Regions from separate parts of the Homo sapiens genome. Here region 2 is linked to region 1. Evidence: promoter capture Hi-C in 16 types of primary human blood cells and fetal thymus (Javierre and others, 2016). All regions are on one chromosome and are shown on one strand. The core of a region is centred on a gene start or on the middle of the fragment in contact, and the rest is flanking DNA. Distances in the headings are between cores, read along the strand shown.

Region 1 (3,570 bases), core at 917-3,416:
GAGGGCTCTTTAGTATCAGCCTGGTTTTGGACCCAAGCCCGCAGGTGACAAGGACGAATGGGCATTGGAGCAGTGTGAGGTTGGACTTTCGTTGGTGGTTTATTTGCTGCCGAGCCTGGGTGTGTGGGCTCTGCTTTCTCTGGGGGGTGCCAGAGCCTCATGCCTTCCTTTGGATATTGGTTCCTCCTGGCCCCAGGCTGCCCACTCTAGGATCCGCTGCTGATCCTGAGCCCACTCACCTGGAGACATCTGTGTCCCATGGTCCCCAGCTGCCCTTCTATCCCTTCTCCACTGCAGACCCTAGTGCCGAGGATTTGCACATGGCCTCGGGTCCCTGGCATCATCCAGGTCACATCTTTTGCCAGGAAGAGGCCTGGACTGAGAACCTGAACTTCACCCCAGATGGCAGGGCAAGTGACTCTCAGGGTGTCTGTGGCTCTGTCTGACACAGGTGTGTGTTCCTAGGCCAGGCTGGGGCCCCAGAGTTGGGTGGGGGCAAGGGGTAGGATGGGGAGGCTCCTGGGGCTCTGAGACAGGGATGGGATGACATTCTTGACATGTGAGGTTTCATCCAGGTCCCATATGTCCCTGTGGATGCTGGGATTGTTATCTTCGTTATAGTGGAGGCCCACTGTCACATGGATGAAGTTGGGATTCAGTCTCCTGTCTTTGACCTCTCCGTATGCAGGAAGGAAGGCCAGGAGGGAAGGAGGAAATGGGAATCATAGAGGGGATCAGAGCCCTCACCACAGCCCCACAGGAGGTCACTGCAGTAACAGGTGCTGGGTCATTTTCCCCATCAGGTAGTCAGGGTCAGTCTCCTGAGGGAGGGGCTGGGCTGAGCCTTTGACTGTGATGCAACCTGGACAGGCATCCACACCTGACCTTGGGCTTGGGCTGTGATGGGTGGACACAAGATGCAGGGCCGCACTTGGATCCTGAAAGACCCCAGGTACCAGGGAGGCCAGGAGGTAGCACAGGGTTGGTGGTAGGTGGGGGCACAGTCCTTGTCCCCTGTCTCTGATGAAAGCTAGGAGAGCTTGGGCTTGAGCGTCAAGGTGGAGATGGCCACTGGGGTGGACAGCAGAGTGTCCCCTGCCACATTAGGGGTAGGTGTGGGAGAGCTCTGGCTTTGGAATCCAGCAGCCCTAAGACCCAAGCCTGGCTCCGTCATTTCCCAGCTTTGTGGCCTCAGGAGTCATTTAACCCACCTGAGCTTCAGTTTGCCCCCTTTGTAAAATCGCAGTACCTACTCACAGGATGGTTATCAGGATTAAAGGAGCCTAGCCTATGTTAGGCATGTAGTAGGTGGTGCCCTTCTCTGGCTTCAGCATTTGAAGCACATGCCAGTGGTGTGCGAGAGCTGGTTTGCACTGGCTCATGAGGGCTGATCGTGCACACTTCTTCCCAATTCTGCACTCGGTGACGTCATGTGGCAGTTTAAAATTGGCTATGATGTGAGTATCCGTACCACAGAAAGCAGCAACAGCTACAAATCAAATCAGGTAGGTTTTTTTTTTAACTTCCAGAAGAGCTGGTGGTTAAACATTTGCCAGCACACCACTAAATGTGCCCCAGAAAAGGTAACTTCCCCTAGTCCCACTGCCCAGGATCAGAAGAAGATGGCACAGAGATGGCCAGGCAAGTTGGCTCACACCTGTAATCCCAGCACTTTGGGAGGCCGAGGCAGGAAGATCACTTGAGGTCAGGAGTTTGAAACCAACGTGGGCAACATAAGAAATCCTCCTCTCTACAAAAAATATAAAAATTAGCCGAGTGTGGTAGCGCACACCTGTGGTCCCAGCTACTCGGGAGGGTAGGGCGGGAGGATCACTTGAGCCCAGGAGGTCAAGGGTACCATGAGCTATAATTGCACCACTGCACTCCAGCCTGGGTGACAGAGGGAGGCCCTGGCTCTAAATAAATAAATAAATAAATACCCTGGCAAGAAAGAAAGAAAGAAAGAAAGAAAGAAAGAAAGAAAGAAAGAGGAAAAGAAAAGAAAAGAAAGAATGAACGAACCTGGCTATAAATAAATAAGAAGATGGTACAGCAACCATGAGTCCATGTCCCAGAATCCATCCTGTGGGCCCTCTGTAGCCATGGTGGGGACAGAACAGGAGGCAGGGCAATAGTGGAGTTCTGGCTTGGCCAAGCAGCCTAGAACTCAAAGTCCATGGCCCCTTCTGGGCCTGGAGAAATTGGATGGTTATAGCACCAGGCAGCCCTTGTGGGTGGGGGACAGCAAATGAGGGACCTCTCTTTTCTCTACACTCTCCTTTGGCTCCCGGAGATCTGGCAGGCCCTGGCTGGAGGCATAAGATTAGATGAGGTTGAGCTGTTGGAGAATGAAGCTGTGTTGGGAGAAGAAATGAGGTTGTACCGGAAGATCAACGAGGTTGTGCTGTCAGGGAATGAGGTGGTACTTGGGGGCAAGGTGAGGCTGCATTATTAGATAAATGAGGTTGTACTGTCAGGGGATGAAGTGTACTTGTAGTAGAGATGACGTCCTGCTGGATCAGTCGGCTTTTGCTCCATCAGAGAACACAGCCACACCACAGGAGGAAGGAGAGTGTCCGACTCAGAGGATAAATGAGGGTGTCCTGCTGGATAAATGAGGGGGCCCGTCAGGTGAATGGAGTGCTGTTAGCAAATGAGGTTGTACTTGCTGGATAAATGGGACTGGTGTGCTGGATAAATGGGGTTGTGCTGTCAGGTGAATGCATTACTGCTCGTGGGTGAAGGGCATCCTGGGAATAGATGAGGGTGTCCTGCTGGATAGATGAGCTGCCACCACCAAATGGATCAGACCCTGTCCATGAGGGAGGCACCATCAGCAACGACGAGGTTATCCTGTTCCCACTGGGGCTCCTGGAGCGTCTTCTGGCCCAGGGGAGACCTCGGTGTGTGCCAGCCCTGGGTTATCCAAGTCTCTCTGGGGAGCAGGGTGGGGGGCTGGGGAGGGCAGGCAGCTGCATTGTGCACCGTGGGACCTCTCCTTCACCCCCAATGGATGCCCTACTCCTCTCCCTGGCACCCCTCAGTGGGTCAGACTGCTTCGGACATTCTCACCCCACTGCCTGCTTCTCATCCTGCCTGTGTCTTCTTTCTGCCCAGTTTGGAAAAGCCCCTATTATGTGTCAGCCACTCTGCCCAGTCTTATTTAATCTCCCTACAACACAGTATTACTCCTCCTTGCACATACACACTTTCTCTTATTCATTCATCCATTCATTCATTTGACAAACATTTAAGTGTCTAGTATGTACCAAACACATGAGGTACAGTTTTAAAAAGGATAAAAATCACTGCCCTCATGAAACTTATATTCTAATATAAAGATAGGATAAATAATGTATTAATTTAGAATGTGAAAATGCTTTAGAAAAACATAGAGCAGGATCAGGGGGCCAAGAAATTCCAGGGAAGAGGAACAGTTTTTAAGAGAGGTCAGGATGGGCCCCGTTCCAAGAGATGGCATCTGAACAAAGACTGGAAGGAGAGGAGCGATCTCTGTGGATATCTGGGGGCAGGCGGGACCATGCCTGGCAGGTTTGAGGATGGGAGGGA
Region 2 (3,803 bases), core at 752-3,251, 110 kb before region 1:
GCAAGGAACTGCCAGGAATGGGGAGAAGGTCATGATGTTTGAATTGGGTCTTGAGGATGGGTAGGAGTTTACCCAGCAGAAAGAGCATGGTTGTGGGTAGGAAGAGCATTGCAGTCAAGGTTAACTACTTACCTGTAGAAAAGTGTGGTGCTATTGTAGAGCAATGTTAGATGTCTCCACATCTAGCAGTGATGTGAGGAAAAAGGCCTGTTATGGAATAAGAAGGACCTAGGTTCTGGTTTCAATTCTGTCACAGAGTCACTGAAAACCTTTAAGCAAACCACTCAGTCCAATTGTGTCTCAATTACCTCATCTCTCCAGGAGGATGCTCTCAAAGCCAAATATCTCAGAGCTGCTCTATCCGATAGAATAGCCAGTAGCCACAACGGTCTATGTAAATTTAAATTAACTAAAAGTAAATACATTTAAAATTCTGTTCCTCAATTGCACTAGCCATGTTTCCAGTGCTCAGAAGCTACTGGTGACTAGTGGCTGCAATATTGGACAGCACAGATATTGAATACCTCCATCACCCTAGAAAGTCCTGCTGGGCTGGGCTGGGCTGGGCTGCCCTAGAGGCCTGTGATTCTCAGAGGAGAAGGGATTTGTCCCATCACCTAGCAAGGTCTCCAGGCTCCCCACTTACCCGTTTAGGAAGATATCCCAAGGAACAGGATAGAGAGGATGCACCATTCCACTGCCCAACCTCAGTTCCTGAAGTACAGTGACCCAAATCAGAGGGCAGGGGTCCCTTGTCCCTTTGTCAGTGCACACTATACTCTGATTTCGCTGTGTGAAAGCTTATCACAGTGCCGGGCCCATAATAGCAGCTTTCATAAATAGCCAGTCCAATTCCCAGTTTTGCAAGTGAGAAAACTGAGGCTCAGAGTGGCCTGGTTTAGGATCCAAGTCTTAGAAATTTCCAGGATATCTTGAATGATGGAATTTAGGAGAACACAATGGTCTTTGATCCTCATTTTGGCTTAAGACTTTCAGGTTTTATTTATGTTGTAATCCAGATGATACTATGTGGAATCAAACACATGACCTTATCTGTGGCTAGATGCATGACTGTCCAGGAGCTTGCAGGAATTAACCAGTGGCCAACCTTGTAATGCACAAGACTTTTATGTTACCTGAAACAAATAGAATTAGGTAGCAGGTAGAATTTTTATTTTTATTTATTTATTTGTTTATTTATTTTTTGAGACAGAGTCTCACTCTGTCACCCAGGCTGGAGTGCAGTGGTGTGATCTCAGCTCAGTGCAACCTCCGCCTCCTGGGTTCAAGTGAGCTCATGCCTCAGCCTCCCAAGTAGCTGGGACCACAGGTGCGTGCCACCACACCCAGTTAATTTTTGTATTTTTAGTAGGGGCGGGGTTTCACCATATTGATCAGGCTGGTCTTGAACTCTTGACCTCAAGTTATCTGTCCTCTTTGGCCTCCCAAAGTGCTGGGATTACAGGAGTGAGCCACCACGCCCAGCCAGAATCAATATTTTTGAAAAATGAACACAAATGTATTACCTACCATGTACCAAGCACAGTTTTAAGAGGGTCTAGTAGATAACTGAGCAACACTATGAGGTACAGATGATTACTCTCATCATCCTCATTTTCCAGACAAGGAAACGGAGGCTGAGATAAATAACTTGCTGAAGGCCTCATAGCTATTGTGAAGCCTGGACTCACCCAAGCAGTGGCCTCAGAGCCCACAATCTTAACCCCTTTCTAGAGCCCTCTCCTCAACTTTGCAATTGTTGAACATCAGGACCTGAGGGAAACTTTGGGATCACCTAGTCTAATCCCTTTCCTTTCCTCATGCGGTACTGAAGGCCACAGAGTGACCCAGATCCAGCCAAGGTTATTCAGCAAGTTGTAAAAGACAGAGCTTGAATCTGAGTCCTGAGGGTGGGTCCCCTGGCTCCTGTTCAGTTATTTTTGCTCACTTCTTTTAAAAAGCCTAAAAAATGAAATGATCCACTGAGCATCTTCTGGGTACCCACATTGTGCTGGATGTTTTTGTGGAAAAAAACCTTGGGTTTACATTGAGAAGTCCTGGAATCAAATCTTACCTCAATTGCTTGCCCAGTGACCTTAAGCAAGTCACTTTCTATGTCTTGGCCTCAGTTTCTCCAGAAAAGGAATAAGGATATAATTGCCTTAAGGATTATGTCAGAATGAGTGGCACAAAGTAATTACTCAAGTAAAAGGAATGGACGCTGAAGACACAGGCCGTGTGCCCTCTACAATCTGGATGTGGAGGTGAGACTGACATGCAGAGGAGGATCAGAGGAGAGCAGAGAGCATGCTTTGTTGGCAGGTCAGACGATGAATGTTAGGACACTTCATGCACTGTTGGCTCCATCTGGCAATGGAGGTGATTCAGGATCAAGAAATCATCCAGGGAAAGGCTGGCCTGCAAGAACCCAGACTGGACACGAGGTGGCGCTGGTGGCCCACCTGGGAACAGGCAGAGACCGGCGACCAGCCCCGGGGAATCTGATCCTGGCAGTTTCATTCTTTTTGCTTCTAGGCATGAAGTCTACATGAGGGACCCTGGTGGGCTGAGGATGAGGGCGCTCTGCCCCACCAAAGGATAAATGGGAATTTTACACTCCTTATCTCATTTAGTCTTCACAGCCACCTTTTCAGGTATTCAGTTTTACACACAGGACACTGTGACTCAAAAGATGTTAAATAATTTCCTCAAGGGATACTATTGAGAAGTAGATCCAGGCCCACTGATTCTAAATCCCATGCTCTTTCCAGGAAAATATGCTCCTCCCAGCCAGTGGAATCAGTCTATCAACAGAGGCTAAACAGGATGTAAGGGAGATCGTACCAGAAAATAGAAGACCAGATTAAAACTGCCTCCTCCTCATGGCCTTCCTAGACTGTCCCCATTCCTTTTTCACCCAGTCCACTCCAACAACCTCCTAATCCATTTCCCTGCTTCCATTCTTGCACCCTAGGCTCTGTTCTCTACAGTGATCTTGTGAGAAGGAAACCAAGTGGCAGTATTCTGCCTTTTTGCCGTTCAAAACACTCCAATGCTTCTGATTCCAATTTGAACAATGTCTGAATTTCTCACCACAGCTATGAGCGGTGCTGTGCTGGTAACAACCAGTTCTCAGAGGCAGAGAGCCCTGATATGTAGCATTTGCTAATTGTGGTGCATATTCTCCCTCCATGGCCAATTTCAAGCTTCCAAGGTAACATCACTGAGCTCAGAGTTGAGAAGGGATGTAAAGAATCGAGACAGAGCCAGTCTGAGTTGACACCAACGCACTGCTGCACCAAGGCTCCACACATAAGATCTGGCCTCAGACGCCTTCTCCAGACAACCCGCTTATTCTGCTACCCCTGTTCACTCTGCTGGATCACTGGCCTTCTTGCTGTTTCTTGAACATAACAAGTACATTTCCACCTCGGGGCCTTGGCACTTGCTTTCCTCTGTTTGGGATGCTCTTCCCCAAAAATGTGCATAACTTGCTGCGTCACTTCATTCAGGTCTCAGCTCAAATGTTACAGAGAGGCCTCCCCTGAGCATCTTCCCTAAGACATCCTACCCACTCCCACCCTCCATCACTTTTATTCCTTGCTCTGCTGTATTTTTTCTCTAAGGGCCTCAATCTCTATTTAATAATAAATGATAGACATTTAAACTTATTTGTCTAGGTCAGGACTGGATGGCCATCCCTAGAACAGACCTGACTCAAAGAAAGCACTTAATACATATTTGCTGGTTGATAAATGAGTAATTACTTTTCCTCTACATGTAATGCCTTTTTTTACTGCAAT

Evidence for each region. The method cuts DNA at HindIII sites, captures the fragments that hold promoters and counts their contacts. A CHiCAGO score of 5 or more calls a contact.
Region 2: a fragment that was not itself captured here is called in contact with the fragment with the promoter of FOXO6-AS1 in region 1 in 1 of 17 cell types (monocytes); the score reaches 6.6 in monocytes.

The regions. Positions count from the first base shown.
Region 1 is chr1:41,373,503-41,377,072 of GRCh38, forward strand. It overlaps FOXO6-AS1 (FOXO6 antisense RNA 1), which reads right to left and starts at 2,167. Exons shown (of 2, transcript NR_135817.1): 1 at 2,023-2,167; 2 at 1,502-1,750. All of the region lies in intron 1 of FOXO6 (forkhead box O6), which reads left to right. The HindIII fragment of the contact is 10,680 bases long and covers 1-3,570 here.
Region 2 is chr1:41,265,909-41,269,711 of GRCh38, forward strand. No RefSeq gene overlaps it. Among named protein-coding and RNA genes, the nearest start is that of SCMH1-DT, 25 kb to the left of the region's middle. RefSeq lists an enhancer at 2,309-2,603. The HindIII fragment of the contact is 2,406 bases long and covers 799-3,204 here.